Linked DNA regions of Homo sapiens: regions 1, 2, 3, 4, 6 and 7 are each linked to region 5. The links are contacts of gene promoters, found by promoter capture Hi-C in blood cells and fetal thymus (Javierre and others, 2016). All regions are on one chromosome and are shown on one strand. The core of a region is centred on a gene start or on the middle of the fragment in contact, and the rest is flanking DNA. Distances in the headings are between cores, read along the strand shown.

The links. The method cuts DNA at HindIII sites, captures the fragments that hold promoters and counts their contacts. A CHiCAGO score of 5 or more calls a contact.
Region 1: a contact is called between a fragment that was not itself captured here and the fragment with the promoter of CNTRL in region 5, in 9 of 17 cell types (naive CD4 T cells, activated CD4 T cells, fetal thymus and 6 more). The highest score is 11.0, in naive CD4 T cells.
Region 2: a contact is called between a fragment that was not itself captured here and the fragment with the promoter of CNTRL in region 5, in 1 of 17 cell types (megakaryocytes). The highest score is 5.2, in megakaryocytes.
Region 3: a fragment that was not itself captured here is called in contact with the fragment with the promoter of CNTRL in region 5 in 2 of 17 cell types (naive B cells and total B cells); the score reaches 6.7 in naive B cells.
Region 4: a contact is called between a fragment that was not itself captured here and the fragment with the promoter of CNTRL in region 5, in 1 of 17 cell types (naive B cells). The highest score is 5.1, in naive B cells.
Region 6: a fragment that was not itself captured here is called in contact with the fragment with the promoter of CNTRL in region 5 in 8 of 17 cell types (naive CD4 T cells, total CD4 T cells, naive CD8 T cells and 5 more); the score reaches 17.0 in naive CD4 T cells.
Region 7: a contact is called between a fragment that was not itself captured here and the fragment with the promoter of CNTRL in region 5, in 14 of 17 cell types (naive CD4 T cells, naive CD8 T cells, total CD4 T cells and 11 more). The highest score is 35.0, in naive CD4 T cells.

Annotation. Positions count from the first base shown.
Region 1 is chr9:120,898,805-120,901,968 of GRCh38, forward strand. It overlaps a transcript of PHF19 not described here. Among named protein-coding and RNA genes, the nearest start is that of PHF19, 23 kb to the left of the region's middle. RefSeq lists an enhancer at 3,048-3,137. The HindIII fragment of the contact is 1,221 bases long and covers 975-2,195 here.
Region 2 is chr9:121,286,520-121,289,793 of GRCh38, forward strand. All of the region lies in intron 2 of GSN (gelsolin), which reads left to right. Among named protein-coding and RNA genes, the nearest start is that of GSN-AS1, 2.6 kb to the left of the region's middle. RefSeq lists an enhancer at 1-752 and a silencer at 892-1,186. The HindIII fragment of the contact is 2,142 bases long and covers 633-2,774 here.
Region 3 is chr9:121,264,069-121,267,086 of GRCh38, forward strand. It overlaps a transcript of GSN not described here. Among named protein-coding and RNA genes, the nearest start is that of GSN, 2.6 kb to the right of the region's middle. The HindIII fragment of the contact is 6,397 bases long and covers 1-3,018 here.
Region 4 is chr9:121,307,008-121,310,293 of GRCh38, forward strand. All of the region lies in intron 4 of GSN (gelsolin), which reads left to right. Among named protein-coding and RNA genes, the nearest start is that of GSN-AS1, 23 kb to the left of the region's middle. The HindIII fragment of the contact is 5,040 bases long and covers 1-3,286 here.
Region 5 is chr9:121,073,511-121,076,504 of GRCh38, forward strand. It overlaps CNTRL (centriolin), which reads left to right and starts at 1,445. Exons shown (of 44, transcript NM_007018.6): 1 at 1,445-1,557. It also overlaps a transcript of C5 not described here. RefSeq lists silencers at 709-905, 1,530-1,589, 1,710-1,849 and an enhancer at 1,020-1,409. The HindIII fragment of the contact is 4,047 bases long and covers 1-2,417 here.
Region 6 is chr9:120,829,375-120,832,326 of GRCh38, forward strand. It overlaps PSMD5 (proteasome 26S subunit, non-ATPase 5), which reads right to left. Exons shown (of 10, transcript NM_005047.4): 3 at 2,458-2,571; 4 at 1,957-2,085. Among named protein-coding and RNA genes, the nearest start is that of PSMD5, 12 kb to the right of the region's middle. The HindIII fragment of the contact is 5,177 bases long and covers 1-2,952 here.
Region 7 is chr9:120,846,422-120,849,507 of GRCh38, forward strand. It overlaps the pseudogene CUTALP. Among named protein-coding and RNA genes, the nearest start is that of PSMD5, 5.0 kb to the left of the region's middle. The HindIII fragment of the contact is 6,542 bases long and covers 1-3,086 here.

The sequences.
Region 1 (3,164 bases), core at 335-2,834, 170 kb before region 5:
CCTTCCTGATGGGTTTTTTATGAAAGTTTCATGGAGCGATGTAGGTAGAGCCTGCAGTGCCGTGTCTGGCACTAGCTAAGCACTCCATGATTGTTTAAGATTATCTTATTCCGGCCAGGCTCGGTGGCTCATGCCTGTAATCCCAGCACTTTGGGAGGCCAAGGCAGGTGGATTACCTGAGGTCGGGAGTTTGAGACCAGTCTGGCCAAGATGGTGAAACCCCATCTCTCCTAAAAATACAAAAATTAGCCAGGTGTGGTGGCAGGCGCCTGTAATCCCAGATACTTGGGAGTCTGAGGCAGGAGAATCTGTTGAACCCAGGAGGCAGAGGTTGCAGTGAGCCAAGATTGGACCACTGCACTCCAGCCTGGGCGACACAACGAGACTCAGTCTCAAAGAAAAAAAAAAAAAAGGCCAGGCGCAGTGGCTCACACCTGTAATCCCAGCACTTTGGGAAGCTGAGGCAAGTGGATCATGAGGTCAGGAGATCCAGACCATCCTGGCTAACATGGTGAAACCCTGTCTTTACTAAAAAGTACAGAAAATTAGGGCATGGTGGTGGGCGCCTGTAGTCCCAGCTACTCGGGAGGCTGAAGCAGGAGAATGGTGTGAACCTGGGAGGCAGAGCTTGCAGTGAGCCGAGATCACGCCACTGCACTCCAGCCTGGGCGACAGAGCAAGACTCCGTCTCAAAAAAAAAAAAAAAAGATAAAAAGATTCTGTTATTCTTACACTGGCACCCCCACAGTGGACAAAGCAAGTGGCTTCTGCAATTGGCATCCTTACGACAACATGGTGAAGTTAGAATTTTCACTCTCATGGCAGAAGTAGAAGCTGAGGCTTAGTTAGCCTCTGCTCTGGAGCTCAGTAGAGGAAAGTAGATGCTGTTTGTCTCACTGGGGCTAAGCTTTTTTGAATGCAGAGGCTGTGTTACTCTCCCCAGCCCAGGCTGTGAGCACGGTGTCCTGCCCACAAGCTTCTAAATCCATCAGCTCCTCCAGTCCCACAAGGCAAATCCCCTCCTCAGTTCCCCCAGGGTGAGTCCCAGCATGACACTGGTGCAGGACACTGCCCTTCCATGCCTCAGTTTCTCCATCTAAAAACAGTTGTGATCATTTCAGCCCTGGCGTTGGTATCAAAAGACCCGAGTGTGAATGTTGAGTTGGAATGGCCTTGAGCAACTGACTTTTCTTTTTTTTTGAGACAGAGTCTTGCTCTGTCACCCAGGCTGAAGTGCAGTGGCACAAGCTCGGCTCTCTGCAACCTCCACATCCTGGGTTCAAGTGATTCTCCTGCCTCAGCCCGCCGAGTAGCTGGGGTTACAGGCATGGGCCACCATGCCCAGTTAAGTTTTGTATTTTTGGTAGAGACAGGGTTTCGCCATGTTGGCCAGGCTGGTCTTGAACTTCTGACCTCAGGTTATCTGCCCACCTCAGCCTCCCAAAGTGCTGGGATTACAGGCGTGAGCCACCGCACCCGGCCTTGACTTCATTTTCTTAGTTTCTGTGTCTTTGCCTGGAAGAAGGGGCTAATGGTAGAATGTGATAACAGGATGTTAAGTGAAAAGGGAGAGCCCAAAACAGTAATCAATATGATTCTAATTACATTTTTAAAAGTCAATCTACATGTATGTGTTTGTATCTACTTTCTCAAAAATGCAAAGAAAATCAACCAAAATGTTCCCAGTAGTACTCTCTGGACACTGGGCTCATGGGTGATTTTTGCTTTCTTCTCTATATGACTTTTGTACTTTCCTAGTTTTTCTTTTATTTTCCTTTTTTGGACAGGGTCTTGCTCTGTCACCCAGGCTGAAGTGCAATGATGTGATCACAGCTCACTGCAGCCTCCAACTCCTGGGCTCAAGGGATCCTCCTATCTCAGCCTCTTGAGTAGCTGGGAGTGCAGGCATATGGCACCATGCCCAGCTAATTTTCAGTTTTTCTATAGAGACGGGATCTTGCTATGTTGCCCAGGCTGGTCTTAAATTCTTGGCCTCAAGCAATCCTCCTGCCTTGGCTTCCCAAGTGCTGGGATTAGAAGCGTGAGCCATTGTGCTTGGCCTAGTTTTTCTATAATGAGTATGTGTCTCTTACAATCAGGAATTAGTAATTGAAGGCATAAATAATAGTTGCCCTTACTGCCCAGGGTTGCCTGAGGATTGCCTGTGGACACCCGTGAGGTGGCCTCTGTGAGCAAGCTTGTATGGCACTGACTGCTTGCCCTGCCCTCCTGGGGTGCTGCCAGGCTGGCATCAGTAGGTACCACAGGGCTTGCCCTTTGGCTGGGGGTAGAGGGACCTACTGCCTCCATGAAGATATGATCTCATCGAAGCTGAAGATTTCACCCAGAAAGGAGAGGAAGGAAAGAAACTGGAAGCAAATACCTGATTTCTTTTTTTTGTTGTTTGAGACAGAGTCTCGCTCTGTCTCCCAGGCTGGAGTGCAGTGGTGCGACCTCAGCTCACTGCAACCTCTGCCTTCCGGGTTCAAGCAATTCTCCTGCCTCTGCCTCCCGAGTAGCTGGGACTACAGGCATGTGCCACCATGCCCAGCTATTTTTTTTGTATTTTTAGTAGAAACAGGGTTTCACTATGTTGGTCAGGCTGGTCTCGAATTCCTGACCTCAGATGATCCACCCGCCTTGGCTTCCCAAAGTGCTGGGATTACAGGTGTGAGCCACCACACCCAGCTGCAAATACCTGATTTCTAATGCCAGTCCCATCCCTGCCTCCTTGGGCCAAGCACTTGGCTTTTCTGGCCTTAGTTTCCTAATCTGTAAAAGAGGATTAAAGGGTGCTTGCCACACCGTTGAGGGAAGGGGTTGCATGTAGCCCCTCGGACCCTTGGCTCATTTGGATTAGGAGTCACAGAAACCAAGTAAGGAGTGCACCTTATGGCCAGACCCAGGGAGCCGGCAGCACCTGGTATTCTAAGTGCACTTCAGGGGCTGTTAAGTGATGAGGATCAGATGTTCCTCCCATCCAGCAGGAAGCAGGGGAAGGTTCTGATGCCCCAGTCAAGTCTGACTGGCCGTTGGGGGCAAAAGGTGTGACTGAAGCACTGACAAGGTGGGTGGAGGCACTAACCTGTAACACCTCCTCTGGCTTGGAAAGTTTTGCTTCATCAACTACAGCTGGAACCTCCGGGGGCAAGGCAGAAGGGCCA
Region 2 (3,274 bases), core at 454-2,953, 210 kb after region 5:
ATTTATCCTCCAAGGCTCTGCCCCAATGCCCCTCCTCCGTGGCTCTGTTGGGCCATGGGTGCTCCCTCCTTTGTGCTCCCAGGGCCCACAACTGCTTGAATGACTATTGGTGTTCCTGTTTGTGTGCCCTCTGGGCCGGGAAGTCAGAGAAAGAAAGGAGACAATTTGTGATTGAACAGCCACTGTGGCCATCATTCTCCTTACCTGTCTGATGAGAGCTGATCTTCATGCCACTGTGTACAGTAGGTATTTTTTAAAGGTGTGTAGAAGTGAGAGTCAGACTTCGGACTTCAGAGTCAGACAGCCCTGAATTCCTAATGGTGTAACCTTGGGCTGAACCTCTCTGAGCTTTTGTTCCTCCGTCTATAAAAGGAGACAATGCCAGCCATGGGTTTTGGGGAGGATTCAACAAGACAATGCTTATAAAGTACTTATCATCACAATGGGCTTCTATGAGCATAGGAGGTGTTATTTGCAGATGGGGACGTTCATTCCGGGGACGTCCCTATCTAGGGCCCCACACAAGGGAGTGGCTGAGACTCCAAGTCTTGGAGCCTCCGACTCCACCCTGTGTTCTCCCTCCCCTCCCTCTCTTGGCCCCCTGGGCCTATTCTCTTCCCCAGATCAGGGAAAGCTTTGTTTGGCGATTGTTTTTCCTAAGAAGTTTCCTCTGTGGGGCCTCTGGGTGACTCAGCCCTGAGTCACCGGGAGGCTGAGGACAGGGGGAGGAGTGGGAGGGAGGCGGAGGGAATGGAGAGACGAGAAGAGGAAAGGGCTCTAATTCTAGCCCTGGCTCTCCCACTGTTTGATCAACTAGGTCTGACCAGGCCCCTCTCCTGCCTAGCCTCAGTTTCCCCAAATGTGAAAGGAAGATGTGGGCCCAGTCCTGGCTGAGCCTCAGAATCAGAGGTTCCCGGGCCCCACCCTAGACCTACAGACTCAGAGGCTAGGGGTGGGGCCTGGGAATCTATTGTTTCCTGAGCTCCTTGGGTGATCCTGCTGCACACCTGGTCCACAGAGGTGTTAGGGAACTGCTCGGCTCAAACTGGCTCCCAGCTGGGCCTCAGAGCAGCTCGGCCTCTGATTGAACTTCACTGACCCACAGGGAGCGCCCTTCTCTTGCAGAATGCTTTGGCAGAATAGTACACAGGAAGCGTGTGGGCTTTTTTTTTCTTTTTTTTTTAAAAACAGCTTTATTGAAATATAATTTACATGATTTATTGGAGTAAATTTACATATAATTTACATACACATAATTCACTCAATTCAATAATGTTTAGTACATTTACAGAGTTATGCAACCATCATCACAATCCAGTTGAGAAGATTTTCATCATCCCCAAAAGGATCCCTCATGCTTGCTTACGTCCATCTCTATGCACACCCCATAGCTGACCACGCATCTGCTTTCTGTCTCTTTGTTGTTTTATTGTTGTATTTTTTGTCACCCAGGCTGGAGTGCAGTGGCGTGATCTCTGCTCACTGCAGCCTCAACTTCCTGGGCTCAAGCGATCCTCCCACCTCAGCCTCCCGAGTAGGTGGGACCACAGGCACACACCATCATGCCTGGCTAATTTTTGTATTTTTTGTAGAGATGGGGACTTGTGGTGATGCCCAGGCTGATCTTGAACTCCTGAACTCAATGGATTCCTCCCGCCTCAGCCTTCCAAAGTGCTGGGATTATAGGCATGAGCCACCTCACCTGGCCTGCTTTCTGTCTCTCCGAAGATCCAGAGCTGTGTTCATTCCAGCTGGCCCTGTGACCTCATGCAAATTATTGCCCTTCCATTACTCCTCTGTATGAGAGGGAATAATCCTACCCTCCTTGTAGGGGGTTGTTTGAATTTCACTAATGTGCACAGTGTCTGACGCACCCGAGGAGCTGGGCACGTGGGAGGCTGGTACGCAGGGCACAGGACATAACACAGATGCCCAGGTACGGTTGGCACAGGCCTAGCAAACATTTTAAAGCACTCACTCTGTGCCAGCTTCTTAGATTAAGCATCTTACATGCATTACCTACTTTAATCCTCGGTGAATGTGAGTATCAGTTTCATTTTATAACTGAAGAAACGGGCACTGAGACGGGAAGTCACTTTTACAGGCTCACATAGATGATAGTTGATAGGGCTGGGAGTCCATCTGAGAGCCTGTCCTCCCTAAACATCATCCTGTCCCCTTCCTGATGTGAATCACCAAGCAAGGGACAACACAATTCATAGATCCAGGACAAGGTTTATGGCACATACTTCTAAGGGGTGGGACCTGGTATCATGGACACGGCATTCAAGAGATAGTACATGGTATAGAGTCTGTCACAAAACAGACATCACATGGTGCATGAAGCATGACCCAGGGGTAAGAGGCATGGGATGCCGCTAAAGGGAGACACACAGGACAAAGCAAGAGGAACGCAGGGCCTGCTACGTGGCACAGTCACAGGGTATGTGACACTGGGCATGACAAACTCTATGATGCAGAGACATGGTACTTAGGATTTGAGACTTGAGCTATGGCAACTGGGCAGGCTCTTGGCCACAGTGGGACCCTTTGTCATCAGGGATCCTCCATTATGTTGGTGCCTGGGGCCCCAGCAAGCAACAGCAGGAACCAAGTTCCTCCTCCTCACAAAGGCAGTCTGTTTTTTTTTTCTTTTTTTTCTTTTTTTCTCCCTCCTCCTCCCTGTCTCTTTGGATGCCAAAGAGTGGGAGGGGCCCAGCGGAGTGGTGGCCAGAGTAACCCCCCGCCATCCCATCAGCTCAGACAAGGGTCAAAGCTTGGGGCCAAGCCCACGGCTCAGGAAGGGTTTGCCAGGCCCCCAGATCCCCTCTCTCTGAGATAGCTGTGAGCACCAGTGTTGGCTGGGGTGAAAGCCGGGTAATTTTCCTCTAAGCTGTCCTCCCTCCGCTCCCCTCCCTGCCTGCTGGTGCTGGCTGTGAGCACGTCTGCATTCCAGAGCTTAGGAGAGAGAGAACCTGCTGCTGTTAAGGTTGAGGAAGTAGATTGCTAACAGCTGCTGTAGGAGGGGTTGGATGTGCGGAAGAGGAGGCCGTGGATTGCAGGCTAACATTTCTTGAGCCTCTTGGCACCTGGCACTCACTACCTCATCTTGTCTCATTTGCATAAAGCCCCAGTAGCCCGGTGAGGAGACAGGCCCAGAGAGGCAAAGAACTTGCCTAAGGTCACACAGGGAGGCAGAGCCAAGGCTAGACCTTGGTCTCCCGGAGGCAGGCAGGTGAGGTTGTATAGAGGTGATGGCACAGGGGATGTTGTT
Region 3 (3,018 bases), core at 289-2,788, 190 kb after region 5:
ATCAATTTATAATTTACTTAATTATAAGTTTATATAGATTGTTATTGAAGGCTGTGCTTAATACAGCCTTAATACAGCTGGGTGTAAGAATGCATGGAAATTTGGCCAGGTGTGATGGCTTACTCCTATAATCCCAGCACTTTCAAAGGCTGAGGTGGGAGGATCTCTTGAGCCCAAAAGTTTAAGACCAGTCTGGTAACATAGAGAGACTTCATCTCTACAAATAACATAAAAATTAGCCAGGCCTGGTGGGATGTACCTGTGGTCCCACCTACTTGGGAGGCTAAGGCAGGAGGATTGCTTGAGCCCAGAGGTCAAGGCTGCAGGAAGCCATGTTTGTGCCACTGACTCCAGCCTGGGTGACAGTGAAATCTTGTCTCAAAAAAATCCACAAAAATTCATGGAAATTGAGCAATCAGTTCGTAAGAAAACAACACTAAACACACTAAATCAGTTCTTAAGAACACAACACTAGCACAACACTAAAGGGGACCGAGGCTGGAGAAAATAACAGTCTCCTTTCCTTCTTCCAGCTCTGTCTTTCTCTGACCTCCACACCTTTGCTTATTCTGTGCTCTTAGCAGAAGATGCTGTTCCCTTCCTCACCTCCACTCTTATTCTTTCCATCCTTTCAAGGCTGACTGAATCCAAGCCGTTGTCTCTGCTTGGCTTCCCCTCCCCTTTTCTCTGGGAAGTGCACCCCCTCCACCCACAGGTTACAGTGGGAGCAGCCAGGTTTGTGCAGTAGGACCCTGTCACTCGGGCCAGAGTTAATTAGATAAAGGGTAGGCATCTGATCCAACTTAGAATGTGGACTACAAACAAAGATTCCAGCTTGCTGCTGGTAAAAGCCATTTTCTGGAAAGCAGAAATGCTTGTGTGATGTGAGCAGACAGGCAGAGATGAAAGATGGGGGAGAGAGTACTTTCTGGGTTCCCTTTAGTACTCAGGTCCTGCTTGTGGTCTGATCCTGAGGCCCAGCTGCACCCCTGCCCTAGTGTTCCATGGGATATTTCAGGATCTCCTGAGAGTGCTCTCTCAAGTAATCCCTTGTATGAAATCCCTGTCTCATCCTCTGCTTCTAGGGACAAACTACAAGGCATTCGATGCTCAACAAATACTTGTGCTGATAACTTCTCTTTCTGAAGCCAGCTCCAGGAGAGGTCTGTAATCAGAAGAGCCCCTGAACCCTGAAGCCTCCTGGGCTGCCCAGCCCAGGCATCTCCTCTGTGAGTTTTGCGACACCCTTCTAGTCATTTAACGAGCCTCATTGGCTTTCTCTGTGAATACGATGGAAGATGGCCACCTCAAAATGGCAGCCTTGGCCTTCAGAGATCATTGGTCCTCACAGACCCAGTTAATTAACCATGATTGTCATGTCTCAACTTCCAGCTCCAAATTCTAATAGTCCAGCTTTTTTCTGCCGTCCACTCCTCATGCTGTCAACTGTGTTGTGGGGGAAGGTTACAGTACAAACCTGGGTGCAAGTGAGGGCCATCCCCTTGGGTGGGAAGAGGCGTTCTCAGAGGAGAGAGCAGGTACCCCCAGATTGTCTAATGCCTGGCCTGTGTGTGGCCTTCATTTCTCCCCAGCCTCACTCTGGGAAGGAGGTGGTCTTCTGGCAAAAGAAGATATCAAAGTTCTTCCATCAGAGGAGATCCTTATCAGCAAGACATTCACTCTGAGGTGAGGATCCAGGACAAACAGGCCTTACCTTACCTAGATCCAATGGGGGGAGAAGTACAAAGAGGTATCTAGAAAGGAATGAAGACAGGATACCAAGAAGACTTCTAGGCATCCATGAAAGGCAGACTTGATATATCCTGCCAGCTATAAAATACACATGTTGAGTCATAAAGCAAAGCACCAGGAGATTTCTAGAAGTGTTCCTAGAGGAGCACTCCCATGTAAGTATTGGTTATCATCATCACAATCATCATCAATCAATCATCATCATCATTATCTTCATTATCATTTCTAATGATTCCTGGTGATACCCTGTTCCCATGTTCCTCTCCAGCCACCAAATGGAGCAATTACAGGGTTATGGGTAGGCATCTGACCCAGCTTAGAATATGGAACCTTAGATCTAGCTTAGAATGTGAACCCTTTTGCTCTCCTGGCCTCAGTTTCTCCATCTCTAAAGGGAGGAGTTGGAGCAGACATTCTCCAATGTTTCCTCCATCGTGATGTGGTATTCTCCAGTTCTATGGGGACACAGATTCAGAGTTCCACCTCCCTTTGTCTGAGAGCAGTTGCTGGGGCTGGAAATGATATGTTAGATAATTCCAAGGCATGTGTATGCCGGGGCTTGTAATCAAAGATTCCAGAGCCAAATAAGCCTGTGTTTTTGCTTTTCTCCCCAGCAGCCTTGCATTGGGCCCCAGGCAGCCTCTGGAGAAAGCAGAGAGTAGCAGAGATGGTGTGAGCCTCCCTGCGGGGTGGATACCTTGCTTGTATTCTCAGAGAAAGTGGAACTGGGCAGAATTTCCCAAGCCAGGAAAGGTGGCAGAGTGTGACATAAGACATTGAGCAAAGAAGCGAGGGCCAAGGACTCAGGCATAGAAGAGTAGACTGCACAGTATCAGTAGTGTGACCTCCAGAGAGTACTTAACCCTTTCTGTGGGCTTGGCCTGCTCATCTGAAAAATACACATGGTAATGCCTCCCTTAGGAGGCCAGGTAGGGAGGTGAGAATTAAAGTCGGTAATACGTGGGAAGCCCAGAGCATGGCATGAGGCATTCAAGAAATGGTTCTTGTATTTACTGGTGTTGAACAAAGAGAGAATGGCAGGAGGAAGAGCCAGGGTGAGATTCCCTGGGTCCTGTGGCTTCCCTGGCTGCTATTCAATGGAAAAACCAGGGAGTGAGCACTGTGCTCTTGGCTTCTGTGCTACTTAAACAACAGCCTTTTCTGCTCTGATCCCCAGCACCCGGCAATTACTGACTCTAGTACATTTTACCTTGTGTTAAGAGGGAGCTTTACCCTGGCTGAACATGGGGCTGCTGCCAGCACCCA
Region 4 (3,286 bases), core at 686-3,185, 230 kb after region 5:
CTGTCTCTACTAAAAATACAAAAATTAGCCGGGCGTGGTGGCGGGTGCCCGTAATCTCAGCGACTCAGGAGGCTGAGGCAGGAGAATCACTTGAATCTGGGAGGCAGAGGTTGCAGTGAGCCGAGATCGTACCACTGCATTCCAGCCTGGGCGATGGAACGAGACTCTGTCTCAAAAAAAAAAGAATTATTTTATAAATAAATACAGAGAATTTTTAAGAAGTGAGATTTATGACATGAAGCAACCCTTTTCCTTTTTAAAAAATAGGGTAAAGATTTTAATAACAAAAATGAAAGGCATACTTCAACAAGTAAAATATTTAGAGGGGTAAAAATTTTTTCTTTCCCCCCATTTCCTTGTCTCCGAGGAATCAATAGAAACAGTGAGTCCTTCTAGCACCTTTTGGAAAAGGTTTGCACATCCACTCTCTCATTATGTCCAGGTGAATGAAGTCCCCTGGTCAGGAGTTCCTAGGCTGACAGTTGAATGAAGCTGGGTCCCTGGAAGGGGGATCTTGGGGATAGAACCCAGCACTGCCGCCCAGCACTGGGCTCTGGACACAATGCTTAATCTCTTTGAATCTCAGTTTCCTTGCCTTTGAAGTGGGAAAATTATTAATAGTTCCTGCATCAGGGGCTTGTGGTCAGGACTTCATTGCATGCACTTAAAGCAGGTGCCCCAGCTTTGGCAAAGCTCGGTAAGTGGCAGCCACTGTGCTTGTTTCAGGTAAGCACAGCTGAGCACAGGTGAGCGCAGGTTGTTGCATTTTCTTCCCTGGCGGTTCTTCCTCACTTGCTCTGGGCAGGCTTGGTTACATCGGTCTCAGAACCCTCCTGTCTTTCTGCGCTTCCCCTGCCTTTCTGCGCTTCCCCTGCATTGCCCTGACCTATGTCCTTTGCACTCTGCCTGGCTCTCCAATCCCAGGCCTCACGGCCATCCAGCCTTCGGACCCCCTCAGTTGTGACTGCAGTTGTGACTGCAGCTGGTCAGTCCCTCACCCCAGAGTCCCAACTCACTCCTTCCTGATGATGGAAAAATTTACTGTCTTGCTTCCCAGTTTTGGGCAGCAAATTCAGGAGCAGAAGTCACAGTCTTACCCCTTGCTCCACACCGAGGTCAGTCATAGTGTGGCCAACCCACAGCTCCCTTGAAGGGGCCCTGGAAGCAGGGTGGAAAGATAGGTTGTTAGCTCTGTGAGCACTGGCCGCCCTGCTAGTCCCAAGGGACTCTTGAAAGGCCTTAGCTGAGACCAAGAAGGGACACCAGGGAGTCCTCCAGCCACTGGCAACCCAAAAACATCCATTACTTGAAAGAGGGCTCTGAATAATGGCTTGTTCCTGCCTCCCATCCTGGATGACTGAGTGATCTTTGCTCTAAGAAAACCTGATATTGGCTGGCACAGTGGCTCATGCCTGTAATTCCAGCACTTTGGGAGGCCAAGGCGGGAGGATCACATGAGGCCAGGAGTTCGAGACCAGCCTGGCCAACATGGTGAAACTTCATCTCTACAAAAAATACAAAAATTAGCTGGGCATGGTGGTGCACATCTGTAATCACAGCTACTTGGGAGGCTAAAGCACAAGAATCGCTGGAACCCAGGAGGTGGAGGCTGCAGTGAATTGAGATTACACCACTGCACTCCAGCCTGGGCAACAGAGCGAGAAAACCTGATATTGAGAGAAGAATGTGGATCTTACAGATTCAGACATGCCTGGGTTTGAATTCTAGCTCCACCACCTTGGGCAAGTCCCGTCACCTGTGGGCCCCATTTTGCACATCAGTGCGATGCAGCAATGACACCTCCCTTGCAGGCGATGCGTGAAGAATGCCCGGCACAGTGGGCATCATCATTTCACAAACACGTATACTGCTGACACAGGAAGACAGAGCAGGAGCCCAATATACACGGACTCCGTTTGTCCCTTGCCCTCCTCGAGTCTGTGCGGCTAGAATTAGACTTAGCACAGTGGGCTGAGGGGCCCTGGATGGGGTGGCTGCATTGCTGGCCTGAGTGGAAGCCCTCTGCTTCCACCCCCATGTGTCTCCGGAGCAGGGAGACGAGCACCCGATTGGGAGGAGGAAACAAGGTTTCCAGCCTTGGCTTGGCCACGCACTTGCTGAGTGCCCTTGAGTAAGTCACTTCACTTCTCTGGGCTTCAGTTTACCGTGGGTAAAGTGGGGTGAAGTAGAAGGACCTTTCCAACTCTGATTTGACAACTCTGGGGCATGGAGCTGGGGACTGCTCACAGGAAAGCCCAGCTGACTTTCCTTGGCTTGCTTCTGAGTGAGGGCAGTTGTGACTGCAGCAGGGAAGCTCTCCTGAACGCCTTGCTCTGGGATGCAGTAATGATTACAGAGGGCTGGGGAGCAGGAGCTTGTGTCTCCACTTCAGAAAGGAGAGGCCTGAGGCTCGGAAAGGGCAAGTGACTTACCCAAAGCCATCCAGCATTGTTGTGGCGGGGCACCTGTCCCTTACCCATAGCTGCTCTGAAGGGACTGCTGGGTGGGAGTTGCTGCGGTACCGTAGGGGAAAGCAGAAGGGTGGCATGGGCTGGAACAATCCAGAAAGACTTCCCAGAGAGCCTTGAAGGATGAGAAAGATTTGGATTAGTACCTCTCAAAGTGGCTTTTGCAAAATACTCAAGCTGGAGGCAGGATATGGTGAAGAAAAGTGGTTCTTGGGCTGGGTTCAGTGACTCACTCCTGTAATCCCAGCACCCAAGGATCTCTTGAGGCCAGGAGTTCAAGACCAGCTTAAACAGCATAGTGAGACCCCATGTCTACAATAAAATAAAATAAAATAAGTAAGCTGGGCACTGTGGCTCATAACTGTAGTCTTAGCCACTCGAGAGGCTGAGATGGGAGGATCATTCAAGTCCAGGAGTTTGAGGTTACAGTGAGCTGTGATTGTACCAATGCACTGCAGCCTGGGACAGAGTGAAACCCTGTTGAAAGGAAGGAAGAGAGAGAGAGAGCGGAAGGAAGGAGAGAGAGAGAGAAAGAGAGAAAGGAAGGAAGGAAAGGAAAGAGAGAGGGAAAGAGAATGAAAGAAAGAAAAAAAGAAAGGAAAGAAAAAAGAAAGAGGGAAAGAAAGAAAAGCAGTTCTTGGTTCAATAAGATAGGGAAATACTGTATAAAACAAAAGGCAAGCAGGTGTATTCACCATAGGATTTGACAGAGCCTTTATTATGCACATGCGCGTTGTATAACAGTCAGGGAGGGTGAGTGAGAAGCATTCCCTATGCTTATTTGACCGTGGAACTCTTTCCTTGCAGAATGTCTTAGG
Region 5 (2,994 bases), core at 195-2,694:
CTTTTTTTTTTTTTTTTTTTTTTTGAGATGGAGTCTCGCTCTGTCGTCCAGGCTGGAGTGCAGTGGCGCGATCTCGGCTCACTGCAACCTCCGCCTCCCGGGTTCAAGCGATCCTCCTGCAGCCTCTCAAGCAGCTGGGATGACAAGCGTGCGCCACCACGCCCGGGTAATTTTTGTATTTTTAGTAGAGACGGCGTTTCACCTTGTTGGCCAGGCTGATCTTGAATTCCTGACCTCAAGTGATCCTCCCACCTTGGTCTCCCAAAGTGCTGGGATTACAGGCATGAGCCACAGCGCCCGGCCAGGATTCACTTTTATAATTATCAGGAAAACTGTAGGAAGTGTTAATAGGTAAAAGGACCTCATTTCATAGATAAGGAAACTGAGACACAGAGAGAGAGGGAGTTTCTAAAAGTGTTATACAGGTGGCCTATAAACTCTGTAGTGAAGAAAGGAAATGAAGACAGGATAGAATGATCGCGAGAAAATGGTAAGAACAAGGGACTGGAAGACGCAAGGAAGTTTAGAAATACGCTGGCATAGGGGTCTTTTGAGCAGGCACGCTGCTAAGATGATAGGATTATAGTCAAGGATGGGGAGCGATTGCACTGGGGATTTCTGGAGCGGGTGCAGCCTCTGATGGTAACATGGTCCAGGGTATACCTTCAAAACGGGAGGCTACTGGAGTGAAAGGCGTCAATGGTGATAACACTTTAAAAAAAACTTCAGTGTTTCCCTAGCATCCAGCCCAGTATCTGCTAAATTCTTTAAAATATCTGTTGAATGCATGTCGTGAACGCCGTGCTCATGGGCAAGCCCCAGATGAAGCCTGTGCAAGTGCTTCTTGCTTTAACTCCCTTGTAGCAATCAGAGGAACATCCTCTGCCTAGGATTCCCAAGCTCCCTGAACCTCACGCGACAGCTGGAGCCCAGGCTGCGTCCGCTTTGAGGTTCATCCGAGCCTGGGCAGTTCGGTCCCTGGAGGGAATTCGCTTTAGATACGACTGTCAGAGAGAAGTGTGCTGATAAGAACACTCGCTCATAGCGCGCAAGCATCAGAAGTGGGGGAGGCCGGGGAGGCGCTGCGCCGGTGCCTCAGGCCGTCCTCGGACACAGGCCCTGAGAAGCGTGTCCGTGTTTCAGAGGGTGGCGGCGGCAGCTTTGTCTCAGCGAAGGCCACAGCACTGCGGGCAGCTGCCGCATGAAACCTCGGCTCCCCCTGACTCTGCACCCGACACTTCACCTGCAACGCAATCCGAAGGCGAAGGCACCGCATCCCGTCGGCCCCGCGCGGCCGGAAGCCTCGCGCCCAAGACTCCCCGGCATCCTAGCGCGCTGGCTGCAAAAGAGGCGGGAAACGCCTCCGCGTCCCTTCCAACAGTACCGGAGAGGGAGAGGGGCGTGGCTGAGACTAGCCCCGACCACGCGCGCGCGGCCCCTCGGCAACCGGCACAACACAACAAAATGGCTGCCGCGCCGCTGGGCCCCTGAGGAAAGAGCCCGAACTTCTCCCGCTCTACCTCAGCCTGCGGGACTGCTCGGCTCGGCTTCTAGGCGGTGAGCGTCAGACCTGGCCGAGCCCGTTCCCCGGCATCCGGCCCGAGCAGTGGGGGCCGGCGGCAAAGGCGGGAAGGCCCGGACCGGGCGTGGTGTGGGCCGGCTTGGGATGGATTCGGGGCGGGGGCGCGTGTCTGGGAATTGGGATTGGACGGGAAAGAGGGGAGGGCCCGGAACGGGCGTGGGGCGGTGGATGAAGGAGGGAGGTTTGGATGGGAAGAGGTGGGGACGGCGGGGGCGATTGGGGATGAAGAACCAGAGTGTGGGGAGGTGTGGAAGTTAGGGTGCGGCGCCCAGAAGGTTGTGGGTCCTGCCACCTGAGCTGAGGGGAGAGCTGGGATGTGCCAGCTGTCTGTGGGGAGTGAGCGGGAGAAAGGACAGTTTGGGCGTCCTGACGGGTTGTCACGGTATCGGACGGAGTACAGTGCGTGGAGAAAGATGACAGGATATGGGGACGAAATGCTAAAAGAAGGGGAAGAACAAACACTTCCGTTATATTCGTTAAGGGACTAGAGAATTTTGAAGCCAGACAAACTTGGGTTGAAGCCTCAATTCTGCCACCTTGTGTAACTTAACCAGGTCTGTGACCCTGGATATGTGTCTGAGCCTTCCTGATCATGTTTCCTCATTTGTCCAAATAATTGCGAATCATTTTTGGGTGTTCACTATTTGTCAGATCCAGTTTTAAGCACTTTGCACGTATTAACCTCATTTAGAATTTAAAATAACTTGTATGAGGTTATCATCCCCATTTAAAAAGTGATAGCACTGAGGACCAGAGAGGTTAAGTAATTTGCCTAAGATCACACAGTAAGTGGAAAATCAGAATTTGAACTCAGGCTGTTTCGTTCCAGAATCCAAGCTTTTAACTGTTCAGGTACATTGCCATTTGTAAATCAGGTTAATAATTCTGATCCTATACAGCTAAATCTTTGAGGATTTAAATTTGGTATTGTCTAAGTGTTTAGTACAGTCCTTCAGTCAACAAATATTTATTGTTTATAGAACAACAGACAAAACCTCTGCTCTCTTGTAGCTTATAGTCTAGAAGGAGAAACAGGCAACAACCAAGTAGTTTCACAAATAATGGTTATAAAATGCTATGAAGGAGACTGCTTGGTGCAGAGATCATGGGTAATAGGGAGATAAAATCTTCTGCATCTTGAGCTTAGATTCTAGCATGGTTCTTCCTACATAAAAGTTGCTCAATAAAATTGAATAATTAATGGAAAGAGATGGGAAGCTTGAGTTTTAGGGTATCTGAGCAGAAGAAGAGAGATGGGAGAGGGGATTCAGGCTTTTAATAGGATGGAGAAGGATACGGGGGCTAGAGTATTAGGATGGAAAGGCAAATAGGCAGGCAGTTGGGTTGGGATGAAGAGGAATGGATGGAGGTTTGAGTATTTTGTTTAGGGAGGGGAGTAATTGGAGGTCAGA
Region 6 (2,952 bases), core at 317-2,816, 240 kb before region 5:
AATTACTTTGGCACAGATTATTATTATTATTATTTTTGAGACAGAGTCTCACTCTGTCACCTAGGCTGGAGTGCAGTGGCGTGATCTCAGCTCACTGCAACCTCTGCCTCTTGAGTTCAAGCGATTCTCGTGCCTCAGCCTCCCCAGTAGCTGGGATTACAGGCATGCACCACCACACCTGGCTAATTGTTTTGTATTTTTAGTAGCGATGGGGTTTTGCTATGTTGGCCAGGCTTGTCTTGAACTCCTGCCCTCAAGTGATCTGCCCGCCCTGGCCTCCTGAAGTGTTGAGATTACAGGCATGAGCCACCATGCCCTGCCACCTTGGCACAGAAATGTTCCATTATATCTAGGTGTATCAGCACTTTCCCGCCCAAGCAATCATCAATCAGGGTACAAAAGCCTGAATCAGCCACAACAAACAGATTATAAAACCATTCACTCATTCAGGCATCCTGTCAGTCAGTCAGTCAGTCATTCACTCACTCATTCAGCAAGTATGTTCTGAGGTCTTACTGAGAGATATAGGAAGACACTGAAGGGTTTTAAGCAGAGAAATGACACAATCAGATTTGGACTTTTAAAAGACCATTCTGACTGCATGAGAAGATAGACTAGGGATGATAAAAATGGATGAGTGGAGACCAGTTTGGATGCAAATATAGTAGCCCAGGTGAGTGACACCAGTAAGTTAGTCTAGGGTGGTAGAAGCTGTACTAATGAAGAGAAATGCAGGGGTTTAAATAAAATCAACAAAATATGATGACCGAATGGATATGTGGCAAGGAAAACAGGCCTCAGAATGAGCCAAGGTCTAATACCCAACTAAGCAGACTGTGAGACACAGCCAGTTTGTTGTCTTATTTTTTATTAGGGGGATAGGGTGGATAAGGAAGATCAGGAATTTGATTTCAGCATGAGTTTGAGTGGCCTAGAATATACCCAAGGGGCCAAGAGTGAGTAAGCAGTTGAGCATGAAGGTTCGAGCTCAGAAGAAAGGTCTCAGTTGGAAGTTTACATCTGAGAGGCATCATCACTGATGGGAAGTGAAATCATAAGTGAGTAAAACTGCCTAGGAATGAGTAGAGTACCGTGAAAGCAGGGCTTGGAACTCTGTTTTCATCAACTCCAACAATTAAAGATTCAACGGAGGATAATGAGCCAGGAGGCTGAGAAGAAACTGAGAGGTAGAAGGAAAAGCAGCATAGTATGGTATCATGACATGCAAAGTAAGAAAGTGTTCTGAAGATGGAATTAGACTATAGAGGATTCTATTTCAAACATGCACCCTATTAACTGTGTGGTCTTGGATCAATTGCTCCATCAATATGAGGTTAATGATAACAACATACAAAGTTTACTGTAAGAATTAAAGATAATATATGTGAGTATTTTAGCATAGTGCTTAGTACAAAGCTGGTACAAATAAGGGCCATTTCTTATTACTACTACAAATTTTTTCAAGTCTGGTTTCAATATCTTCTCTATCATAGTAATTATATTGCACTGTAAATATATATATATATATAAAAAGGGTCTTGCTCTGTTGGCCAGGCTGGAGTGCAGTAGTGCAACCACGGCTCACTGCTGCTTCAACTTTCTGGGCTCAGTTGATCCTCCCACTTCAACCTCCTGAGTAGCTGGGACGACATGCACATACCACCATGCACAGCTAATTTTTAAAATCGTTGTAGAGATGGGGTCTCACTATGTTGCCCAGGCTGGTCTGAAACTCCTGGCCTCAAGGGGTCCTCCTGCCCTTGCCTCCCATAGAGCTGGGCTGTAAGTATTTTTTATGACTGTCTCACATACTAGGCTGGGAATGCATCCTTATATTCCCAGCACCTACTGTAGGGCCAAACACAGATTATATACTTAATGAGCCATCTTGCTTTTCAGCATAAGCCAAACTGCATTCTGCTTTGTAAGCATGAGAAAGTGTGCTTTTTATCTTACCTCATACACCCTGTATCGAACAATGTCATTTGTTTTCATTACACTTTTCAAATCATCCAGCAGATTGCTTTCAAATAAAGCCTCCAGTCCAGCTTGGGTTAGTGATATTCTTGACAGGGATTTGATAGCCTTATAACGAAAGAAAATATCTCTTACATTCCCAAAATGCAGGTTATTATCTACTTCATAAGAGTGATGTAAAAATAGTGCATGGAATGCACCTTGCCCATGTTTTAGCTATTATTTATAATTGGAAAAGACGCAAGGTATCCCCCATAGAATTATGATGGATACTGTAGATATGTATATCCTAGAAAATGAAAGGGGTTTACTAGTATTTACTTGACAACCATTTATTTTACACAATCCATATGAAGTTGTAAATTCCATTACGCAAATCATCCATTCTAAACCTTCACCTCTCAATTCAGAAGGCCTTTCTTTATCTTTTGGGACACCGATGTCTCTGCACATTTAAGTCAATGATTCTAGTAGACTCACCGCTTTTGCTACAGATAGATTCTCTCCACCAATGCAATAAACAATTTGTTTTAGTAATTCAGCATTATTTAGAATCTCAGTAACAGCATCAGAATTTTCAACAATTCTTCCAATCTGAAAGAAAAACAATCAGAAACACTCTTCTAAAGTAGGGCAACATACGGTAAACACACGATGGTCCAATTTCCTTAGTGCACAGTTATTTTAGGAGTTAGTGATCACAGCTATATATCAATTCATTAAAAAATCAAAATGACCTAAATTCATTCAGTCAAACACACATATGGTATAGTCACATCTTTGAAAGGAAAGAAAAAAGAAAGTGGGTAAAGAGGTAAGATAGTTCAGTGAGTGAAAACAATACAAACCCAGCTCTATGTTTAGCTACACTGACCTTGCACAAATTTTAGCCCCATTTCTTATCCGTAAAATGGGAACACAATATTTAATTCCAGGATAGTTACGAAGATTAAATGAGACCGAACAGGCAAAGCA
Region 7 (3,086 bases), core at 406-2,905, 230 kb before region 5:
TTCGAGGCTGTAGTGAGCTAAGATTGTGCCTCTGCACTCCAGCCTGGGTGACAGAGCAAGACTCTGTCTCTAAAACACACACACAAACAACATCTGACAAGGCATTTCAGCCTGGAGTCAGTCAAAAAATCTTAGAGGTCTGTAAAGGAGATGACTATGCTGTTAGGGCTGTGGTAGAAACCTTTAATAACAAGTGAAAAGAGCTTGTATTTGCCAAAATGAACACAGGATATGATTCTTTTTTTGCTTTTGCTTTGGAGTTGTATCAGCTCTGTGCGGTCACATGGGTATCTACAAATCAAAGCACCCATCAACCAGATGCATCTCTGAGAGTTAACAGCAGAAGGTGGCATAATAAAAGAAGTTCTCGGTAGTGAAAAAGGTTGGAAACCACCAGCTAAACCAATCCTCTTGTACCAATAGGAGATTCAAGTTGAGAGGTGGGAAAGGGCCTATCTCAGAGTAGGTGCTTGAATACTTCTTACTAGAATGAAAGAAGGAACTTAAGATCACACAGCCATGTTACTGCAGGACGGGGAATGGAACCTAGGTCTTCTTATTTTTGGTTCAGTGTTAACTCCCATTCTCTAAGCAGACTGGGCCTGTTATTCAAACTGCCTTCCCATAGGTGCTTCCCTGCTTCTCTCCTCACCCAGAGAAGGACTTACAAACAGCTTATCTTCAGAGGTTTTGTGCCTGATAGTTATGGAATGTGCTGGTTTGAGCAGGGAGGATGTAAGGGGAGGGAATGCTAAAAGCCTGTCTACTTAGAGTCAGGTTTCCTGGGTAAGTCCCTGGAACCCCATCCCCTTCCCCTTTCTTGAGACCCCAGGACTTGCTCCAGTAACTGCCACCCTGTGCCTTTGCTTCAGGGCCATGCTGGATAAGGAGCTGGCTGCCTCTGTGAACATCCTACTCAAGGCATCTTCACTGTGAGTTTTGCTGTTGCCATTGGAGGGGGAGTGGGGGGAGTGTGGGGAGTGCTAGGGTCAGGTCCTGGCTGGTGTAAAGAACACTGAATTAAAGGAATTGTCAGAATAACTCAAAGGCATTTAGATAATCAACAGTCCATTTCAGTGTTTTTATTCAGAGATCGATCGATCAGTGGGATGTTGTCCAACAAAAGCAAAAATAGACTGTATAGAGAAGGAAGGAAAAACTGCATAATTTAGGAACAGTATATCTTGTTTGCACATTCTTTGGTTAAATCAATTAGCCTGCTGTTAGGAAGGAAGTCTGGGCATTTTATCCTTGAGTAAACCAACTAGGGATATCAGAGAAAACAGTTTCCAATGCTTTTGGATTCTCCAGAAAACAGACAGTTTAGCATATATGACAGGCTGCTTCTGCGTATTGTCTACCTTTCATTTCATTAACAACTTCACTTTAGAAGCCTGGTCTGCACCATTTCCCTCATCACAATACTTTAGCATCCTGGCACTAGCTGTGCAGGATTTGTCGTACGTCTTCCTTTCCCTGATGATCATGTTTCTCATTTCCTTCCCTCTCTCCCTTACACCCTCAAAAGAGAGAGACATAATATACATTCTCAAGGTCATATAAGCTATATAATGAAAGCTACCTTTTTCTCCCCAGTGATGTTATTTCCTCAGTGGCTCACACCATCTGTAGTCATAGTTCCCAAATTTGGCCATGCGGTCTATCCCTGAACTCCAGCCTCAATCTATTCAATTAGTCGCCCTGAGGATGGGGCCCAGGTCTCTGAATTTTTAAAGACTTGTATAGATAAGTCACATTTAGCCAGTCTGGGAACCAGTGTTGGGAAATTGAATAGAATTTCATCCTACTATTTCCTTTATATGCCCATCCTTTCTCGTGATGTATTATTTTGCCACAGTCCTGTGACACAGGAAGGGCCAGTGGCCTTGGTCATCTTAGATTTGCCCTTGTTGATCTTCTCAGGGTAAATGTCTTTCCTTTCCCCTGATGGTGTTCTTATACTGTCTTCTGATCATCATTTCTGACTTTGTTTTCAGCATCTAAAAGTTTCCATAACTATAAGGCTTACTTCTTCCCTGCAGTCTTCCGTGTTTTTAGTTATTCATTTATGGGCACTCTCCTTGGAAAGTCAGTGATCAAAATAGCACTAGTGTGTAGGATGAGCACTGGAAGAGCTCAAGCAGAGAAGACATAGGAGTTTCTGCAGGGCTGTCCTGGGGTGGTTCTTGATGAGGCCAGTTGGGGAAAAAGCTAGGTGGCAGATGTTGGCACACTATAAGAAAAAGCATCTTGTGAAAACCTTTAAGTTAGATGGACTTCATCAAGAGATGATGAACCTCCCACCTCCAGGAATGTTCAGGCAAATGCCAGATGCATGCATTGGAATCGTTGGACCAGATGACATGTGAGGCCTTGGTCAACTCTAGACTTGTTTATATAGGCTTGGAAAGATTTTAAAGTTTTCTCCTCAGTAGGTCACTTAGGTGGGCCAGGTTTGACACTTCACTGAGCTCCTCTTAGGAGCATCATAATTTGGTTTTGTTCCCTTCTCCAGGTACTTTTGGGAGGGAAAAATAGAAGCCACTAACATCCTGTTAGTGAGGATGTGAGTGTAGGGAGTCTTTTTTTTTTTCTTTTTTTTTTGAGACGGAGTCTCACTCTGTTGTCCAGGCTGGAATGCAGCGGCATGATCTCAGCTCACTACAGCCTCTGTGTCCCGGGTTAAAGCGATTCTCCTGTTTCAGCCTCCCAAGTAGTTGGGATTACAGGTGCCCGCCACCATGCCCGGCTTATTATTTTTTTTGTCTTTATTTTTTGGTAGAGACAGAGTTTTGCTATGTTGGCCAGGCTGGTCTTCAACTCCTGGACTCAAGTGATCCACCTGCCTCGCCCTCCTACAGTGCTGGGATATAGGCATGAGCCACCACACCCAGCCTGTTGTTTGTTTTTTCTTTTCTTTTCTTTTTTTTTTTTTTAACCATTAGTGCAAATGTCAACATAGTAAAAGGATAAATAATAAAATAATATTGTTATGAAAGTAGTTTTGACCCCATGGACCCCCTAGAGTCCTGGAGATCCCCATGGGTCAGTGGACCTTCACTTTGAGAACCTCTAGTATAAACCTT